Regions from separate parts of the Homo sapiens genome. Here all the other regions are linked to region 4. Evidence: promoter capture Hi-C in 16 types of primary human blood cells and fetal thymus (Javierre and others, 2016). All regions are on one chromosome and are shown on one strand. Each heading gives the region's core, a stretch centred on a gene start or on the middle of the fragment in contact. The rest is flanking DNA. Distances are from core to core; before and after follow the strand shown. Region 1 overlaps LOC105372567 (a long non-coding RNA gene). Region 2 overlaps NXT1-AS1 (NXT1 antisense RNA 1). Region 3 holds the start of LINC01431 (long intergenic non-protein coding RNA 1431). Region 4 holds the start of THBD (thrombomodulin). Region 5 overlaps NXT1-AS1 (NXT1 antisense RNA 1). Region 6 has its middle 72 kb from the start of LINC01747. Region 7 has its middle 110 kb from the start of LINC01747.

Region 1 (2,700 bases), core at 57-2,556, 280 kb after region 4:
TGAGACTGTCCAGGAACTATCTTATCAGGTATTTATGCAATCGGCATTCCTCTCCACTTGGAAAAGTGCACATCTCTACATCTCTGTGTGCCTTTCAGGACTTTCTATCCATTTATCATTTTCCTTTATTCCCATAGTGCTTTGGTCAGTGTTTCTTGGATGTCCACAAGGAAACTCTTCCTCTTTGAAGTATTACCTTCTCCTGCCCAGTCACCCTGCTGACGTGGGTCAGAAGAGCAAAGAATTTCAAACATGTTCACCAAAGCCTGGGATTATCTCTTTAGCTTTCATTTTAGAAACTTCCCTCCCATTTGTTTCTTATTTCTTCATAGCTCCTATGAATTGAACACATAAGCATGCACACAAATACACAAACACACAGGCACACACACACACACATGTGACACTCTCACAGTAATGCAGACACACATAGACACACATGCAGAATTGAGTGTGGAATGCATGTGTTGTTGGGGAGTGTGGGCTGCTTGCTCAAGCTAGCAGCCGCTTTCCACAATGACCCCACTGACCCTGCTCTTTGGGAAGCAGCATTTCTGCCTGCTAACTGATACATTCCTCTTCCAATGGATATTCTATCTCACACTGCCATACTGCTTACCACTTCTGAAAACTTGGTGCAGATTAGCTCCTCAATCCAAAATGGCCCTGTGGGAGAGGTATCAATGCCTCCACTTTTGTGTGCAAAGCAAACAAGTTTCAGTGCACTGAAGTCAAGTAGCAAACCCTACTGCTTGTCTTCTGGACACTTAAAATTCAAGTACAAAGCTGAGCTCACCGTAACTTTCCCCAACCCAGTATCTTATTTCTTGATGTTTCCTGTTTACCATATTTACCCAGTTGCTCCCACCCCAAGCTGGGCTGGCAGGTCCCCCTTCTCCCTCAGCCCCACATAAGTCCAGCAGCAAGCCCGGTGGATCCTTCCTTCAACAGGTGTCTCACACAGGCCCGGGTCCCTTCTGCTGATGTCTCCATCCTAGAGCAACCCAGCACCACCTCCTGCTACTGAAGCTGCTCCCTAATTAGCCTCCCTGTGCCCACTCCCCTCTCCATTGTTCTATATACAACAACCGAAATGAACTTTTCAGACTGGGTGTAAGCTAAGTTAAGCCTCCCCTCTGCATAAACCCTCACCGGCCTCCCTCTGCTCCATGAAAGCTCCAGTCCTCACCATGGTCCCAGAGGCCCCCTGTGGTCCAGTCCCAAATCTATTACTGGCCTCTTTACTCCATCTCTTTAGTTCGCAAGGGAATGAAAATTCCCTTCCAGATTTTCCCACCTGCTCTTCCTGGGGACTTCAGTCCTGGAACTCTGGTTCACACACTCCTCCCTCTCTTCTTATGGTTCACTCCCATGCCCCATTCTCAGAGGCCTCCACTTAGTCTTGTGCCCCCAGAGAGGTTTTGTGCCTCCACAGCGTGTTTCCAGAATTGCAGGTGCACTTTCTCCTCAGGTGCAAGGCCCCACTGTTCTGTATGCAGTCTGTGCTCAGTGGGCCTGGAATGAATGATGGGTTCAAAACCTGGAAATGTCTGCCTGTTTAGATGACACAAGAGGCAGCCCCCAGGAAGGCAGTGGCTCGGAGGAGAAGGACATCAGCCTGCAGGATCAGAGGGAAGAGACCCAATCTCTTCCCTGGCCTCCTATATTTCTCTCAATCCAGGGCAGCTGCAGGAGGGAAGGAATGTGATCACATAAGGCAAGATGTGTAGGGAGACTAAAGACCTGCTTCAAAAGTATGAAGGGGCGTTTCTGGTTGGAGGCCAGCCATGGTTTTCAGCAGGAAAAGGAGGTATGTGTTAACCTACTAATGAGCTTATATTCCCTGATGCTGACCCTGATGTGCACCCCAGGCTGCCTATATTTTCCACTTTACAAGAGTGTTTGGGCATCATTAAAACAATCCACATGTCATTAACCAAGAGTACACTAAGTGCCAGGCCAGTCCTTCACATTTCAAATAAGTTGTAAAACACTCCCCTTTTCCTTTGGGGTGTAGAAGCAGACTGTGGACCTCAATTCCCTCCTCCATGAATTAATGGATGTCACTAGATGGTCTGCACACTGCTTCCTCTCCCCCATACTGGGTTCTTCAGATTTCCAGCAGGCTGGGACGTGTGTCCCTAAGATGTGACACGGGTTCTGCAAGGCTTCCACAGTGTGCAGTTCCATGGATAAAATATCTTCCATGAAGACTTCTAGAAAACAATAGTGCATTGTTTCTACCCTCCCCAAAGGACTGGAGTTTCCCGATTTTCTCTAGAGTCCTTTGTTTTGCTGTTGAAACAGTCTGTAATTTACCATTTTTCCTCTTTCCTCTTATCCTCCAGATTTCTCCATTCTCAGTAAGACATTACTGGAGCAGTTGCCAGGAAATCCTGCTTTGAGTGCACTCACTTCCCGGCCCTAGGAGAAATGTGGTCAAGTTAATCATTCACTTTTCCAAGCCCTTCTGCAATCTTCCTTCAAGAAAGGAGATCAAACCATTCCCTCAGTGCTGGCTTTGAGTTTTCTGATCCTCATAAGGAGAAGACTAGGCTAAAACCATTCAAACGTTGACTTTGCCACCTCTTAATGAAGAGCCTTCATCCTTTCCTAGTGCAGACATTCATATCTCTATTCTTAGAGAGAAGTTCTAGCCTCACGGATGATTATCAGGAAACATTTTTTTGTCTTCCATGT
Region 2 (2,700 bases), core at 95-2,594, 270 kb before region 4:
GCCTCCCCTGGAGCTCTGGCCAATAGGAAATAAACAGAAGTGTCCTATACGACTTCTAGGAAATACACTTAAAAGGACAGAATGGGTTCTTCTTTGACCTTTCCTTACAGCAGCTTGCTGGAATGCAGGCGTGCTGGCTGGGACTGAACCACCCTCTGGGACTGTGAGGCAGCAATGTTGGATGGCGGGGAAGCAGGCTGGAAGAAAATTTAAGGTCTCCATTACCAGCCTCAATCGGCCTATCTCTATACTTGGTTTACATTAGAGAGAGAAGCAACTGTGTTACTGAAGTCATTGTTATTTGGGAATTTTGGCCCCATGCAGCTGATCCTAATTAGCTACATCTCTGATATAGTTTCCTGCCCCTGCCCTTACCCAACCCCCTCATTTTTTATTTCCAACATAGCAACCACAGTGGTTCTTTAGAAACTTGTCAGTCCCCCCCAGCTCAAACCCTCCTTTGGCTTCCCGCTCACTCTGACTATAAGCCAAAATCGAATCAAAGCCAAGTCCCTGCATGGCATGCACCTTCCATCTCCCCACCTCATCTTCTCCCCCTTGTACCCTTGTTCACACCAATTCAGCTCCAGTGCCCTGTTTGCTGTTCTCAGAGCAAGCTGTGTTTGCGCCTTTCCCAGGGCTGAGGGTTAGAGGTTAGCTGTTCTTGCAGTGGACGCTGACAGGGCTGGCTTTCTCTTTTCATCCTAGTTTCTGCTCAAATGTCACCTCATCTGAGAGACCTTCCCTGACCCTCCTACCTAAAACAGCTCACACCTTCCCCATCCCTCTCTAGCTGAGTGCCTTTTTTCTCTACACGTGATAAGGACAGGAGACAGGGAAATACTGAGAAGTGGGCGGTTCCCCAGCAAAGATCCCACCCTCAAGCCTGGAAACCCGTGGCCCTAAATGGGAACAGCCCTTCCTGTTTTCAAGCCCAAAAGTTGCCTTTTGGCCTGCTGTGCCCCCCTATCCTGTACTTGTACAAACCCCAGACCCTAGGCTTCAGAAGCAGACGAGGGAACGAGCAGAAGAACAGAAGAACAGCAGAATGGCATGGCAGAGAGAAGAAAGGGACCATCTGAACGCCAAGAGAAATTCAGCTGGGGGAGGTCAGAGAGGAGATAGACTGCAGGACAGCCAAGCTCCAGGGGAAGATCATCTTCCCACTCCATCCCCTTTCCAGCTCCCCATCCATCCCGCTGAGAGCCACCTCCACCACTCAATAAAACCCTGCATTCACCATCCTCAAGTCTGTGTGTGACCTGATTCTTCCTGGATGCCGGACAAGGACCTAGGTACCATGAGGGCACTGAGCTGGTTAACACTTAAGCTATCTGCAGGCAGCACAGCTAAAAGAATGCATGGTAACACATGCCTACTTGGGCTTTGGGAGTTGCAGGCACCCACCCCTAGAAGCTACCATGGGGCTGGAGCCCCAAGGTGCTTGCCCTGGCTCCTGCACCTGCTTGTCTGCATGCTCCCCTTCCTGTAAGGGGTTTGCACAGGTGAGGTGGCCAAACAGATGAGCCACACCCCTATTGCGTGTCATGTGAGGAGGTTCAGGGAACTCTTCCATTTCACGTGGACTTCCCACTGAAGTTGTATATTCATTTCCTTGTGTGCCGTCCCCTTCCTCTCCACTAGAGGGAAAGTTCTTTGAGGCTGGGCTAGCCTCCGTCTTGTGTGCAGCTTTATCCGCATTACTCAGAGCAATGCCTGATGTGCAACAGGTGCTCAGCTAGATGAATGCCGGAACAAATAAGCAGCGTGAGAGGGGCTCCTGGCTTTTATGGGGAGGAAGACACAACAACCGTGGAGAACCAGGATGCTTGGACCAGATCACTGTGGAGTCTGGGATCTTGTTTCCAGCTGGCCAATTTTTATTGAAAAAGGGTCTTGCAGGCCGGGCATGGTGGCTCAGGCCTGTAATCCCAGCACTTTGGGAGGCTGAGGCGGGTGGATTATTTGAGGTCAGGAGTTCAAGACCAGCCTGGCCAACATGGTGAAACTCGTTCTACTAAAAATACAAAAATTAGCCAAGTGGTAGTGGCATGCAACTCTAATCCCAGCTACTCAGGAGGCTTAGGCAGGAGAATTGCTTCAGCCTGGGAGTGGGGAGGTTGTGGTGAGCAGAGATGATGCCACTGCACTCCAGTCTGGGTGATAGAGTGAGACCCTGTTTCAAAAAAAAAAAAAAATAGATAAAAATGTTCTTGCAGATCTGAGTCAAAATAATTCAGAGTTCTTTTCTTGAATAAATATTTAGTTCTTCTGGGTCATTGCTCTAAATCAGTGGTTCTCAAGGCGGGACATTTTGCTCCCAGAGGACATTTGACAGTGTCTGGAGACAGCTGGTCACACTGGGACTGGGGGTGCTGCTGGCATTGAGTGAGTAGATGTCAGGGGCATTACTTAGAAAATACTTCAATGCACAGGACAATACCACACAATAAAGAATTACCCAGCCCCGAATGTTAATCATGCTGAGATTGAGAAAGTCTGGTTTAAACATCTCATGAAATAACAGGATTCAAATCATATCATATGCTGCTGGTATAAATACAGAATTCTGTGAGATTCTTCAAGTTCAGGAGAAGTGGGAGGAAGACTATATTTTGCTTTCAGGATCATCAGTCCTTAGTTATTTACAAGTGTTTCCATAAATAGATCAATAACCCAACAAACATTTACTGAGTATCC
Region 3 (2,700 bases), core at 54-2,553, 310 kb before region 4:
CTCCACATGCTGACTGACACGCCCCCTGCCCCAGCCCCACCACTTCCACAAATAATTACTGCTTTGATTGGACCAGAGACTGACTGCAGTAACTTTTTCCTGATGGGAAACAACCGAACAGGGGCTGATTCTGGCGGTTTACAGAGGCTGCACACAAGTGCATCGGTGTCCTGAAAAGATCTTTCAACTTATAGGGTCTAAATGTAATACATGAATACCTGTAAATGCTAAGAGTCCACCCCAAAGTAAACATAGGTCACCTGTAACATGCACGTTTGTCCAGTAAGCATGGGTCAGGACCCGTTTCATGAATATTCATAGCTCTTCCTGTGGCCTGTTCATATGTGTACTTGGCTAAGTCCTTCAGCTTAAATTCCTGTCTTAGGCCCCCTTCCCTCCAGCTGCCTGCCTTTTGAGCTTCTGCCAGAAGCTATGCTTCCCAGCCTGTCAGAAGGGCCACCTTGCAGGTTATCACCGTTTAAAGAAATAAAGCTCTCCTTTCTATGTTTGTGATCTTTTTTTTAAATAATACAAATAGACAATTCACTTGACAGTGTGAATGGCATACTTCACTGACAATGGAATACTATAAAAACAATAATAAACCACTGATAAACATCAACCTGACAAAGTTAAATATAGTGTTTCATGCTGTAGAACTCTGCACGAGAAAAGTACACGGGAGTGAACAATTGTTACGTAAGGGCGTTCACTGCAGTGCACTTACATTAGTGAAACTTTGGAAACAATCTCACCTATAAGGAGATGGCCGAAGAATTTGATATATCCAAGCACTGGATTATTATGCCGGTCATTAAAACAATGTTTAAAAATATGTGTAATAGCTTGGGGAAATGCTCACCATGTTATAATGAGTAAAGACGGTACACTATTTTACATAGGGTCTGATGTGATTTGAAAACAAATCTATAGAAATAGACTGGAAAGAAATGTATCAAATTCTAAACTGCACAAGGAAGAACACTGACGCACGCGCAACGCCGGCGCCCTGCCCACTAGGCGCCCTCGCTGCCCCTCACCTGCACAGCCGGCGCACGCCCACAGGCTCGTGAGGGAGCGGCCGGTGGGTCAGGCTGGGCGGCACTCCTCGCCCATTGGCTGTCCCGGAGTCCGGCCCCGCCTCTCCCCGCCTTCTGGAGCCGCTGGTATAGCTCCTTCCAGGGCTCCTTGGAGACGGAGGGCGGGGCTAGGGCGCCGGAGTCACGTGGTCGCGCCACCGCGCGATTACTAGCTGTCAAAAGAGTCCTCAGAAGTGTCCTGAGCGGTCGCAGGGTAATGACGTCGGCCGTATCGGGGATGCTGGAACCTGCGGTTGAGTGAGAAACCGGCGCCACCGCCTGCGTCTTGGTCTCGGGCTGGTGGCCAGCGGGGTCTGGGCGTGGTTTTACCCAGCTCCTTTGCGAAGCTGCTGTCCTTTCCTCAACGTTACCACCCGGCTGGGCAGCCTACCCTCGGTCAGTACGTCCTGGCAAGAGCGCTTCGGGCGTGGCGTTCGTGTCGCGGGGGCCTCGGCTCAGAAGCGAGGGAAGAGCAGCCCTCAGAGGAGCGGCGACCGCGCTTACCGGGAGCCCGGGTTGGGAGAGGGCTCCCCAGGAGGGGTGTGAGCTCCGAACGAGAAAGAACGCCACCGCCTCGTGGGGTCTCTTCCTAATGTGCAGATTCCAAATCTCTACAATGCTGCAAAAGAGGTTACAGTCCACATCAAATTAAGCATGCCCTAAAGGGCAGCTGGGGTTCAGTTCAAGAGTTGAGTTTTAACACACACCTTTACCTGCCTTAAAATTGGGCAAGGTATCACAACGTTAAACCATTTCTCACAAGGCTCGTTGGTGATGTTTAAGATTTTTTGTTTGTTTGTTTGTTTTTTGTTACGGAGTCTCGCTCTGTCGCCCAGACTGGAATGCAGTGGCGCGATCTTGGCTGACTACAACCTCCGCCTCCTGGGTTCAAGCGATTGTCCTGCCTCAGCTTCCTGAGTAGCTGGGATTACAGGCGCCTGCCACCACGCCCAGCTAATTTTTCTATTTTTAGTAGAAACGGGGTTTCGCCTTGTTGGCCAGGCTGGTCTTAAGTTTTGCATCCTGGCTCCCTCCTCTTACCTAGTCCCAGCCTCTTGTCTACAGGACAAAGCAACTTTCTGCAGTTTTCTGTTTGCTCTTTAGAGAGACGGGGCCCTAATTTGGCAAAGTGGTAGGGGAGACAGGGCTGGTGTTTAAGGTCGACCAAAGCAACATCTAAATCTCTGCTCTTCCCCCAAATTGTCCAAATTAGCAGCAACAGGTGTGCACCTTCCAAGCTTGCAACAGACCACATTCAGAAGCTTGATTTCTTGTTGTTCTGGGAATATCTGGATCAGAGGTAACATGGTTCACTAGGACTCCTCAGCTTCACCCAGTGTCCATTTCACCTCCCCCGGCCTTCCAATGTCTCTTCTTGCAGATTTCTCCAAGCCACTCTCCCCGTCATCTCCTCCACCCCCAGGACCCAACTCCTGCCCCTCCCACCCTAGCCCCTGTTCTCCCTGCCCACCTCCTACCCCACTGGAGTGGCCTTTCATCAAACCTAAACCAAAGAAACCAACAGACCTTGCTGTCACCACTACTCCGGGACCTGGAAGTTAAAGCGAGGGAGAGACGGTGAAACACAGAAAGCAGAACGCCTTCTGTTCTTCCACAACAC
Region 4 (2,700 bases), core at 75-2,574:
CCCTTTTTAGCCCGAAACTTCTCCAACTTCCTTGGCTTTGTTTAGAGCTCGACAGCGCCGCCCCCTGGCGCTCGTTGTGAGGACAGTAGAGGAGAGAGGCAAGGGTGTTTTTAAACAGTTTGCCTCTCACCATTATGGGGGCGACCCGAGGGGGAGACCCACTCTTCCGCATTCCCGGTAAGTGAACCACCGGAAGAGGTCGAAAGTGACGGATTCCCATGTCCTCCTCCAGCCCCCCCCCCACCCTGCCCATCCACAGGACGGTGGCTCTTCAGTGCCCTTTGCCGAGCAAGTGGCGTTTCTATGCACGTGGGTATCAATTCGGACTCTGGACGAAATGGAAACCTCCTTAGCCGACCCGGGTGGGATCAGCTGGGATCCTGCGCGCTCCCCTGGGGGGTTGCCAGCCACTCTGTTGGGGTGCAAGAAGCACCATCCTTCGGAAGCTGGGCCGAAACTGGCCAGGCTGACTCGCTCCCACGCGCCCGCCCCTACCCGGCGCCGCAGCAATTCACCTGCCACCGCCTCTGAGCCGGGTCCGGACTTCGGCGCCCTGACAGTGTCCCCGCGACTTCCCCACCCGATGAGATGGGGTCTGGCGTTGGCCAGTGCGTGTCCAGGGACTCGCGGGTCCCTGGCCAGCCATGGGGCAGAGGGCGCTGGTGTTAGGCCAGTCTTCCCCACCCTGCCCCGTCACCCCAGCCACACCCACTGTCCTGTGAGGCCAAGCGCGCTCCGCTGGTTTCCTGAGCCAGGCACCTTGGCCGCGGACAGGATCCAGCTGTCTCTCCTTGCGATCCTGTCTTCGGGGAAGTCCACGTCCTAGGCAGGTCCTCCCAAAGTGCCCTTGGTGCCGATCACCCCTCCCAGCGTCTTGCAGGTCCTGTGCACCACCTCCCCCACTCCCCATTCAAAGCCCTCTTCTCTGAAGTCTCCGGTTCCCAGAGCTCTTGCAATCCAGGCTTTCCTTGGAAGTGGCTGTAACATGTATGAAAAGAAAGAAAGGAGGACCAAGAGATGAAAGAGGGCTGCACGCGTGGGGGCCCGAGTGGTGGGCGGGGACAGTCGTCTTGTTACAGGGGTGCTGGCCTTCCCTGGCGCCTGCCCCTGTCGGCCCCGCCCGAGAACCTCCCTGCGCCAGGGCAGGGTTTACTCATCCCGGCGAGGTGATCCCATGCGCGAGGGCGGGCGCAAGGGCGGCCAGAGAACCCAGCAATCCGAGTATGCGGCATCAGCCCTTCCCACCAGGCACTTCCTTCCTTTTCCCGAACGTCCAGGGAGGGAGGGCCGGGCACTTATAAACTCGAGCCCTGGCCGATCCGCATGTCAGAGGCTGCCTCGCAGGGGCTGCGCGCAGCGGCAAGAAGTGTCTGGGCTGGGACGGACAGGAGAGGCTGTCGCCATCGGCGTCCTGTGCCCCTCTGCTCCGGCACGGCCCTGTCGCAGTGCCCGCGCTTTCCCCGGCGCCTGCACGCGGCGCGCCTGGGTAACATGCTTGGGGTCCTGGTCCTTGGCGCGCTGGCCCTGGCCGGCCTGGGGTTCCCCGCACCCGCAGAGCCGCAGCCGGGTGGCAGCCAGTGCGTCGAGCACGACTGCTTCGCGCTCTACCCGGGCCCCGCGACCTTCCTCAATGCCAGTCAGATCTGCGACGGACTGCGGGGCCACCTAATGACAGTGCGCTCCTCGGTGGCTGCCGATGTCATTTCCTTGCTACTGAACGGCGACGGCGGCGTTGGCCGCCGGCGCCTCTGGATCGGCCTGCAGCTGCCACCCGGCTGCGGCGACCCCAAGCGCCTCGGGCCCCTGCGCGGCTTCCAGTGGGTTACGGGAGACAACAACACCAGCTATAGCAGGTGGGCACGGCTCGACCTCAATGGGGCTCCCCTCTGCGGCCCGTTGTGCGTCGCTGTCTCCGCTGCTGAGGCCACTGTGCCCAGCGAGCCGATCTGGGAGGAGCAGCAGTGCGAAGTGAAGGCCGATGGCTTCCTCTGCGAGTTCCACTTCCCAGCCACCTGCAGGCCACTGGCTGTGGAGCCCGGCGCCGCGGCTGCCGCCGTCTCGATCACCTACGGCACCCCGTTCGCGGCCCGCGGAGCGGACTTCCAGGCGCTGCCGGTGGGCAGCTCCGCCGCGGTGGCTCCCCTCGGCTTACAGCTAATGTGCACCGCGCCGCCCGGAGCGGTCCAGGGGCACTGGGCCAGGGAGGCGCCGGGCGCTTGGGACTGCAGCGTGGAGAACGGCGGCTGCGAGCACGCGTGCAATGCGATCCCTGGGGCTCCCCGCTGCCAGTGCCCAGCCGGCGCCGCCCTGCAGGCAGACGGGCGCTCCTGCACCGCATCCGCGACGCAGTCCTGCAACGACCTCTGCGAGCACTTCTGCGTTCCCAACCCCGACCAGCCGGGCTCCTACTCGTGCATGTGCGAGACCGGCTACCGGCTGGCGGCCGACCAACACCGGTGCGAGGACGTGGATGACTGCATACTGGAGCCCAGTCCGTGTCCGCAGCGCTGTGTCAACACACAGGGTGGCTTCGAGTGCCACTGCTACCCTAACTACGACCTGGTGGACGGCGAGTGTGTGGAGCCCGTGGACCCGTGCTTCAGAGCCAACTGCGAGTACCAGTGCCAGCCCCTGAACCAAACTAGCTACCTCTGCGTCTGCGCCGAGGGCTTCGCGCCCATTCCCCACGAGCCGCACAGG
Region 5 (2,700 bases), core at 166-2,665, 290 kb before region 4:
GCAGCTCCTACTGTGGGTCTGGAGTTTGGGCTCAGCTGTCTTTCTCTGGGGCCATTTGAACAATCCTGGTGGATAGAGCAGAAAGAGCATGCGAACTTGGAGTCAGATAGACCTGCGTGACCTCCTGTGAATGATCTAACCCTCTGAGCCTGTAAAATCAGGGTACCTGCTCCCTGATGTTGGCATGTGGATACCTGAAGAATGCCTGAGTAGTGGGTGCAGCTCTTGTGGCACAATTACCCCAACTCCACTCCCATCTTCTCTTCCTCTCTTAACGGGTCACTGACTTTTCTGGTCCTGAAACACACATGCTCCTCAAAGGGACTTGCCTGGGGCACAACTCTCACTCTGCAGTATCCCTACTTGTGAGCTCCCCATATCCTAGACTAGGGTCCCAGACCCGAGGCCCTCCATAATAAGACATGAGCTGGGTTCCCACCATTCTCCCCCGTGCCATGTTTCGGCCACGCGGAATCCATGCTGCTTGCCGCAGTCCTTAGGCTGCCCTCTCTGCCTTGTGTACCTTGCCCCCATTTCTGCACACATTTCCGCTATCCTTCAGGGACTGGCTCAGATGCCACCTTCTCTTTACAGCCATCCCACTTTGTGGAAAGGTCTGTGGTGTTCCCCCCTCTGAACATTCCTGTGCCCCTTTTGTGGCATTCATTTCTCGCTCTCTCCCCAGTGTTCGGCCAGGCCGTGTGGGCCCAGGGCGAGGCCCTGGTTTGCCCAGCATCAGCAGAGACGTTTTAGTGATGCATGGATCTGAGGGCTGGTCTGTGTGCGGAGAGAGGCTGCTCCCAAGTGGGAGATGCTGAGGTGCTTGGCAAAGATGGGACTTGAGAGAGGCCTTGATTGATGAGTGGGCTTTGAATAAGGAATCAAAGAGTCTTGAGAGCTCAGAAGTGAGCGGCAAGCACTTTTTGTCTCCCCCTGCAGCCTGGGAAAGCTGAGTGGAGCAGACAGTGAGATACCCTCTTCACTCCTTTCCAGACCAGGGTTTTCTGGCCACAGTCTTGGACCTTACTCATGGCAGGGCAGGAATGCCCAGAGTTAACACCCAAGAGCATCCTTCAGTAAGGACAGATGGGAATTGGAGGGTTCCAACCCTTCCAGTCCCTCAGGCAGGACATCTCTGAGGCACACCCCGCATCATCCCGGAGCTCCCCAGGGACTGAGCCAGGCACCTGCAGTGCTGCCCCTGTACTGGCTTCCCCCTGCCCTACCTCACATCCCCATACCCCAACAGGTGCCCCTGGGATCACCTCTCAAATAAGTGGCTTGCAGTGCAATTGTTGTCTCAGGGGCTGCTGCTGGGGACTCTGTCTAAGCTAGGGAGCAAAGAAAGGACTTTCTCTCACTGTTGAAACACCTGAAGAATGTCTAGATGGGTTTTCCTGGTCCCTTGAAGGGTCAATGCCTTGGCTAACAGCTCTCTTTTGGTGCCAGACAGTAACAAATCTAATGCAAACTACAGTTCTCAAAGTGAGGGAGCGTCAGAATCCTTGCTAACACTAGGGTGCCAGAGCCTTAGCTTCAAAGTTTCAGACATAGCAGGGCCAAGGGAGGCCAGAATTTGCATTTCTAACCAATTTCTAGTCATACTGGAAAGCCGGGACCACACTTTGAAAACAACTGCTCTTGACTAGAGAATAAAAGTAGCCTGGGTTGAAAAGTGCTCTGCAGCTTTTTTAATGAAGTAAATTATTATTTTACACTCTTCTGCAATTAGTTCAGCCTTGACTGTTGAGCTTAGTTTTCCTTTTTTTTTTTTTTTTTTTGAGACGGAGTCTCGCTCTGTTGCCAGGTTGCAGTGCAGTGGCGTGATCTCAGCTCACTGCAACCTCCACCTCCTGGGTTCAAGCAATTCTTGTGCCTGAGCCTCCCGAGTAGCTGAGACTACAGGCATGTGCCACCTTGCCCAGCTAATTTTTCTATTTTTAGTGGAGATGGGGTTTCGCCGTGTTGGCCAGGCTGATCTCAAACTCCTGACCTCAGGTGATCTGCCCGCTTCGGCCTCCCAAAATGTTGGGATTACAGGCATGAGCCACTGCGCCCAGCCAGTTTTCCCGCTTTTGAAGCTGTCTGATCTGTCTTGCTCTTCAAATCTGAATTGCCATTCACAGAAGCAGCCACACGAGGGTGGTCTAGCCTTTGACAAGAGCCGCTCTGCTTGCGTTGTAGACAGGATCTGAGTGACACCTTTTCTGATCAAGAAACCAAAGTGTTCCTTCCCTATATCAAACATAGGGCATTTAAAAAGTCCAAGATAATCTCCTTTGTCTTGACAGGTGGCTGCTCAGAGAGGCTTTTTTGTTTTTCTCTAGGATATTTTAGAAACGGTTTGGGAAAGCAGAGGTCTCTGCCTCTCCAAAGCAGCACAGCTTTTAGTGTGGTTCTATTTCAAATTCTGAGGTACTGTCTCAAAAATGCTTCCTGGTGAGCATTTTGGTCTAATGGCTGACTTTGGCACTTTGTCCCGGGATGGTTCCGAGGCGATGAATGCACAGTGTACAATGGGATGACCGCGATGGCATGTGGGGGATCAGCTCAGGGTGCCGGCGCAAGGCCCCAGGCAGCCCGTTCTTGCCAGCCAGTGCCTATGACCAGCGAGGGGTGGGGGCATCGAGAAGATCCTGCCCCTCCCCACGACCCTACCCCTTCTCCCGTGACATCAGAGTGTCATCCCAGGTGGAATAT
Region 6 (2,700 bases), core at 35-2,534, 290 kb after region 4:
ATCTTTGGCATGGCCTTCTCCACCCATCCTGACCCCCAAGGGGCAGAGAGAGAGGTGGAGGGAACCGAGAAGCAGGAGCAGCCAGCCCCCTCTGCGAAGCTCAGTTCACACCCAGAGCCAACCTGGCTCTGTTGCCTGGGTGGGTCCCAGATCCCTGGGCTCAACCCTTTAAACCCATATACTCCAGAGGTTTACAGATGGGCGGGATTGCTCTTCTTCCAGGGCTTCCCATCTCTCTTTGCACCGTGAGACCGGGCTAATTTTGTTTAGCGGCTTTAAGAAGAGTTGGAAGATGTTCTGCACAATTTTTCAAACTGAAAACTCGACTACAGGGAATTTCTAGAGACCAAACCCCTGCAGGGCCTTAACCACAAGTGATTGACAGCTGCGGGCTGTGGCTCCTCTGGCTGTGAATGGTACCCGAGTTCCTGATCGTCCCTGTGAATGGCAGCAAAGTGAAAACCAGGACATAGAAAAAATAGGTCTGCCCTGGCCACTGCTCCCCTTTGGAATTCTTGGTTCTCTTGTGTCACCTTCAATATATCCATGGAATGTCTAAGTTGTTTCGTTTGGAAAACAAATATAGAAAGAAATGGAATCAAATATTTAGTGAGCAGGAGAGTGGATACTGATAGTCATTGGAGCTAGTCACAAATACTCTGGATTTCCTTCTGGGCACATAGGGAGGTAGAATTTGAACGCCCTTTTTGCATTAGAGAAGACCACGTGCTTCCTTTACTGATTGAAATGTGAGCAGAACATCACATGTCTCTCCTGGTTGGCAGCTTTAAGGACTAGCACATGACTAACTGTGCCTCTTCCCTATCTCCGCAGAAACATCTGTTGAGATGAAGCCTCTGTCCTTCTAAGAGATGAAACCTCTATCAGCTTAGGTCCTTGAGTACCTTATGATGGGCAGAAACCCCCCACCTCATGCTGACCTGTGGTGGACATACATTGTGAGCAAGAAACAGCCTTTGTTGTTTGAAGCCCTGAAATCTTGAGGTGGTCTTCACAGCATGGCCTCACTTGTCTTCCCTGAAACAACAACAAAATACCAAGTACAATACTGTGGGTCCTTCTCATCATGTCTGGACTCCTGGGGAACAAGTAAGGAACCAACACCATCCGAGTGCAGCCGTGGAACTGCCTCCATTCAAACCCAGTCTTATTCTACTCTATGGGCATAAACTTTTGTGGCCCAGAATGATGTGAATTGAATACTAACTTCCCTAGTTCTGAACACTTTTTGTTACTATCTGTGAGTTTTCTGTCTGTTAGTTACTCGAATGACAGAGTCCTCAACTAGTGATTTCTAGGGAGATTTTCCTTTCCTCCCATAAGCTCAGAGAGGATTTCTCCACCACCCCCACCCCTGACACTGGTATCTCCACTTCCAGGGCACTTTGGTATCCATCATCTGGCTTTCTGTTTTCTGAAAGCATTGCTTTCCCTGGCCAGCAGGCTCTGAGTTTTTTCTCATTGTCTGCATGCCTTGCGGCATAGTTAATGCTGATGGTCTTTCAATGAGAAAAGTAACCTCCAGTGTGATGTCTAGCTGAGTACGTACTTTCTTTTAGCATTTGGACATTGTCATTAGGCAGCCCCTGCCCCTCCCACTGCCCTGCCTTCCAACACCTTTTCCCTATGCCTCTCATTATGGCATCAGATAGAGAGGCCCAGAAGAACTCAGATGACTAGCTTCAAGATTCAATTCTATTCAGCAAGGGCACAGGCTTCACCATCAATACATAAAACTCAGTTGTATTTCTAGAAACTTGCAATAGACAATCCAAAAATCAAATTTAAAAAATAATTGCATTTATACTAGTATAAAAATGAATAAAATATTTTGGAATAAATTTCACAAAAGAAGTGCAAAACTTATAATGTAAAAGGAGAATTTAGAATGCTAATGCTACACATAGTCTTAACTCACCTCTTGCCCTGAATGCCTTCTTAAAATAAGAAACCTCATTTTTTTAATGATGGAATTCAGATGTCTTAATTAATCATGCTTCTCCTGTCAGTAAATTGGAAGTTGATAGACAAATACTGTCAAAACTACTTCTATATTGTTGGTGACAGTGGATGGAGCAGGAGATAATTTACTCAGGAAGTTCTTAGCTTTTGCAATTAATAAAAATTACTAGGTTATTTGGAGATGACATAAAGTTAGTTACACCAAAACAATTGTCATTAGTTTTAATGACTACCCTTGGCTTAATCCTTACCTGCAAATCACTCTGATACTGGTCAGACCCCACTCAGATCCCTTATTGGCCAGTGTGCACAGCCTTCAGCTGCCAGGGAAGTCAGCTGTCTCAGCTTCGAGCTACCCCCATTTTGGAAAATTGTCATTGGATCATGGAAGCATCTTAGGAGATTACAGCCCATCCACCCACCCCCAATAAACAGTGACTGGCTCAGGGTACAAAGGCCAGCCCCTCGCAAGGTGAGACTGTGGTGCAGTTTGTTCCAAAGCTCCCCCAGGGATCAGGGTAAAGCCAGACTGCAGCTCGAACCTGCTCCTGTTCAGCTCCTTCCTGTCCCTCTTCCTTCCCTCGCTGCCCTTCTTTGGAGAACCCTGCCCCAACATCACTTGAAGATGGATCCCCATTTGACAAAAACATAAAGGACCTGGGGAAATTGGACCTCTCCTTCATCTGGCCTGAGCTGGTGTGATTTTTCAGGCCCTCC
Region 7 (2,700 bases), core at 1-2,500, 260 kb after region 4:
TCGGCAGGCTGTACAGAAAGCATGGTGCCAGTATCTGCTTGGCTTCTGGTGAGGCCTTAGGAAACTTACAATCATGGTGAAGGCAAAGTGGAAGCATATGTATCACATGGTGAGAGCAGGAGCAAGAGAGCCAGTGGGGAGGTGCCATACACTTTTAAACAAACAGACGTCACAAGAACTCACTCACTACCACAAGGACAGCACCAAGAGGATGGTGTTAAACCATCCGTGAGAAATCTGCCCCCATGATCCAATTAGCTCCCACCAGACCCCACCTCCAACACTGGGGATTACAATTCAAAATAAGGTTTGATGGAGACATCCAAACTGTTATCAGTGATTCTGACCTTAATGCCTGGAGGAACACATGGCCTGCCTCACACCAGAAGACAAGAGACCTTTACAAAGATGTCCTGAGAGCCATGTTCTGCTGATGAATTCTGCACCTGCAGCCGGCATTGCTTCCTAGATTCAACCTGAATGCGGGGCTTCCATTTGGTTCCTTTTGTGCCTGGTTCTCAGCCAATACTTATGGTTTCACTACAACTAATAATTTCCATTTTGTATGAATAAAAACAGCACTTAGGATGATAAATGTTTATTGAAAGACTCAAATTTTCATTTACTCTACAATCCTGCAAAATAGTCATAGTATGCCCATTTTAGAGGTAAAATTATTCTCAAAGAGGATAAGTGACTTGTTCAAGATTATGTAGCTATAAATAAAGTAGTAAAGCAAAATTATTTAGTAACATATAGAATGCTAACTAACAATAAAATGTGTAACAGGAGTGCTCCTTTTTCATGGGGTTTCATTCTACACAGAGGATAATTAGCCTCTTAGACTCCCCACCCCTGTCCCTCATCCCCGGATTTCATATTCTCCTGTTCTTACTGGAGCACACATCAACCATGAAAATTTCTTGGGGAAAGTCCTGAAAACTCCAAAACAAGAGCCCTTTGAAATCTCCCATGATCCTTCACTCAGCAGTTAGACATTCACTTGACCTCACTCTATTCTGAATTCTCTTTAGGGCTCAAAACTTGATGGCTATGTTTCATATGATGTTGATCCCAGGCTTTTATGAAAACTTCCTCAAGATGTTGGGTAAGACGTTACTACTTCCAAGAATCTGTCTCCTGTCTGAGCAAAGAAGGCCTTGAATTCTTTTCCTGCAGGGGATCTGAGCTTGGCTCATGCAGTTAGAGTAGGATGAGGGACTTGCATTACTAAGGGTCTGGCTTGCACACAAAGAGAGAGAAGCTGACGGCCTGTGGCAGCCCTCAGGAAGTTATCATGAGGTGTGCGAGTGGGGGAGTCTGATTTCAACCCTTCTTTGCACAGGTAAGGAAAGGGAGATGACAATGCAAAATGACTCATCCACCACCAACAACAACTTGGAGGCAGAATTAGGCTCAGAGTTCCAGAAACTGTACTTCCCACTGCATGCTGGTGACAGGCTCACACTTGGGACTTGACCTGTTGAGGTTACTTTTTTCCCTGCATCAGTCAAGATATCATTGCCTTAGCAACAATATGTTTGGTCATTTGTTATGGTTATTGGTAGAATATTTTTACTTTTTTCTTTCTACTGGATCACTCCCAACATCATGCAAACATCTGGTGATTTCTCTTATCTTGAGAAAACCCTGTCTTAGCCCTATATTCCCCTACAAGTGCCACCTCATTTCCTTGCTGTCCTTTAAAAGAAATCTCACTTTATCTTCCCATTTTCTCTTGAGTATGCTCAAACAAAGGATATTCGAGTCAACTTGAGATGCCCCTGCCACTCAATCAATCATGTCCTACTTCTGGAGCTCCAGGCACTGTTTTAGACACTGGAGACAAATTAGTCTTTTGCTGATGACATCCATGCTACTAAATCCACAGCCAGGGCCCTGTTGTCACCTTCTTGGCCTGTCGGCATGAGCTAGTGCAGTGAGTCATGCCCTGCTCCTCAGCATTTCTGACCCTCGCATATATCTCCTGCACATCTATATTTATGTTCTTAGGAGATGTTCTTGGAAATGGAATTATTATTACTATGTGAGAAGTTACCAACATTCATTTTCTTAGCAAAAGGTAAAGCCGAATCAATACTACGTATTTGGAGAAAACTTAAATTCTAAGACATGTTCTCAAGACAGTGTAGACTTACCCTAATCTCCACAGCTGTCTATAGCTATGATACAATAACACCTTATGAATCAATGTATAATAAGGTTCTGTGTGGATTCAATAAGGTCACCATGGATTCAATTTTCTTCACTATGTGAATAAAAGCAAGAAAACAAATATTTGCATTTAGAAATAACTCTTACCTCACAAGCAGGAATAAGTAGGGTTTTCTAATGCTCCTTGGTAAGGAAGTATGAGGTCAGAAAGGCTGGGTCCAGCTCTTCCTCAGCTACTTATTAGATCTACAGCCATGAAAGAGTGATGACTCCTTGGCATCTCAGTTGTCCTTATCTTAAATGACGAGGTTGGACCAAATGGCCAAGGAGCAAAATTTTCGTTCAGCTATGAGAGGCTATGAGTCTACCAGAAATGATAATTTTCAAAAGCAACTCATTTGGTTTCTTCTACAGTTGAGTCCACATCAACCCAGTAATTCCACTATTAGACATTTACCCAAGAGAAACAAAAGCATATATCTGCAAGAACTCTTGCACCAAAATTCTCATGGTAGACTTGTTTGT

What was found. Contacts are between HindIII fragments. The CHiCAGO score rates a contact against its expected background, and 5 or more counts as called.
Region 1: a fragment that was not itself captured here is called in contact with the fragment with the promoter of THBD in region 4 in 3 of 17 cell types (megakaryocytes, neutrophils and endothelial precursors); the score reaches 6.7 in megakaryocytes.
Region 2: a fragment that was not itself captured here is called in contact with the fragment with the promoter of THBD in region 4 in 8 of 17 cell types (monocytes, neutrophils, M0 macrophages and 5 more); the score reaches 13.9 in monocytes.
Region 3: a contact is called between the fragment with the promoter of LINC01431 here and the fragment with the promoter of THBD in region 4, in 9 of 17 cell types (monocytes, M0 macrophages, M2 macrophages and 6 more). The highest score is 35.4, in monocytes.
Region 5: a contact is called between a fragment that was not itself captured here and the fragment with the promoter of THBD in region 4, in 9 of 17 cell types (M0 macrophages, M2 macrophages, M1 macrophages and 6 more). The highest score is 25.8, in M0 macrophages.
Region 6: a fragment that was not itself captured here is called in contact with the fragment with the promoter of THBD in region 4 in 3 of 17 cell types (neutrophils, M0 macrophages and megakaryocytes); the score reaches 6.3 in neutrophils.
Region 7: a contact is called between a fragment that was not itself captured here and the fragment with the promoter of THBD in region 4, in 4 of 17 cell types (megakaryocytes, neutrophils, M1 macrophages and 1 more). The highest score is 10.1, in megakaryocytes.

The regions. Positions count from the first base shown.
Region 1 is chr20:22,773,256-22,775,955 of GRCh38, reverse strand. It overlaps LOC105372567 (a long non-coding RNA gene), which reads right to left. Exons shown (of 3, transcript XR_937350.3): 2 at 2,320-2,424; 3 at 1,740-2,216. Among named protein-coding and RNA genes, the nearest start is that of LINC01747, 89 kb to the right of the region's middle. The HindIII fragment of the contact is 2,816 bases long and covers 1-2,700 here.
Region 2 is chr20:23,319,502-23,322,201 of GRCh38, reverse strand. All of the region lies in intron 1 of NXT1-AS1 (NXT1 antisense RNA 1), which reads left to right. It overlaps LOC105372571 (a long non-coding RNA gene), which reads left to right. Exons shown (of 3, transcript XR_937379.3): 3 at 993-1,249. Among named protein-coding and RNA genes, the nearest start is that of NXT1, 30 kb to the left of the region's middle. The HindIII fragment of the contact is 8,680 bases long and covers 1-2,700 here.
Region 3 is chr20:23,356,730-23,359,429 of GRCh38, reverse strand. It overlaps LINC01431 (long intergenic non-protein coding RNA 1431), which reads left to right and starts at 1,303. Exons shown (of 3, transcript NR_109884.1): 1 at 1,303-1,475; 2 at 2,293-2,379; 3 at 2,461-2,700. RefSeq lists a silencer at 968-1,157 and enhancers at 1,208-1,597, 1,788-1,877. The HindIII fragment of the contact is 4,137 bases long and covers 1-2,319 here.
Region 4 is chr20:23,048,296-23,050,995 of GRCh38, reverse strand. THBD (thrombomodulin) reads left to right here and starts at 1,324. Exons shown (of 1, transcript NM_000361.3): 1 at 1,324-2,700. The coding sequence starts at 1,492. The HindIII fragment of the contact is 6,749 bases long and covers 1-2,700 here.
Region 5 is chr20:23,340,140-23,342,839 of GRCh38, reverse strand. The region is part of intron 1 of NXT1-AS1 (NXT1 antisense RNA 1); the gene reads left to right. Among named protein-coding and RNA genes, the nearest start is that of NXT1, 9.3 kb to the left of the region's middle. RefSeq lists a silencer at 2,167-2,216. The HindIII fragment of the contact is 6,381 bases long and covers 1-2,700 here.
Region 6 is chr20:22,755,729-22,758,428 of GRCh38, reverse strand. No RefSeq gene overlaps it. Among named protein-coding and RNA genes, the nearest start is that of LINC01747, 72 kb to the right of the region's middle. The HindIII fragment of the contact is 3,832 bases long and covers 1-2,700 here.
Region 7 is chr20:22,790,774-22,793,473 of GRCh38, reverse strand. No RefSeq gene overlaps it. Among named protein-coding and RNA genes, the nearest start is that of LINC01747, 110 kb to the right of the region's middle. The HindIII fragment of the contact is 3,169 bases long and covers 1-2,700 here.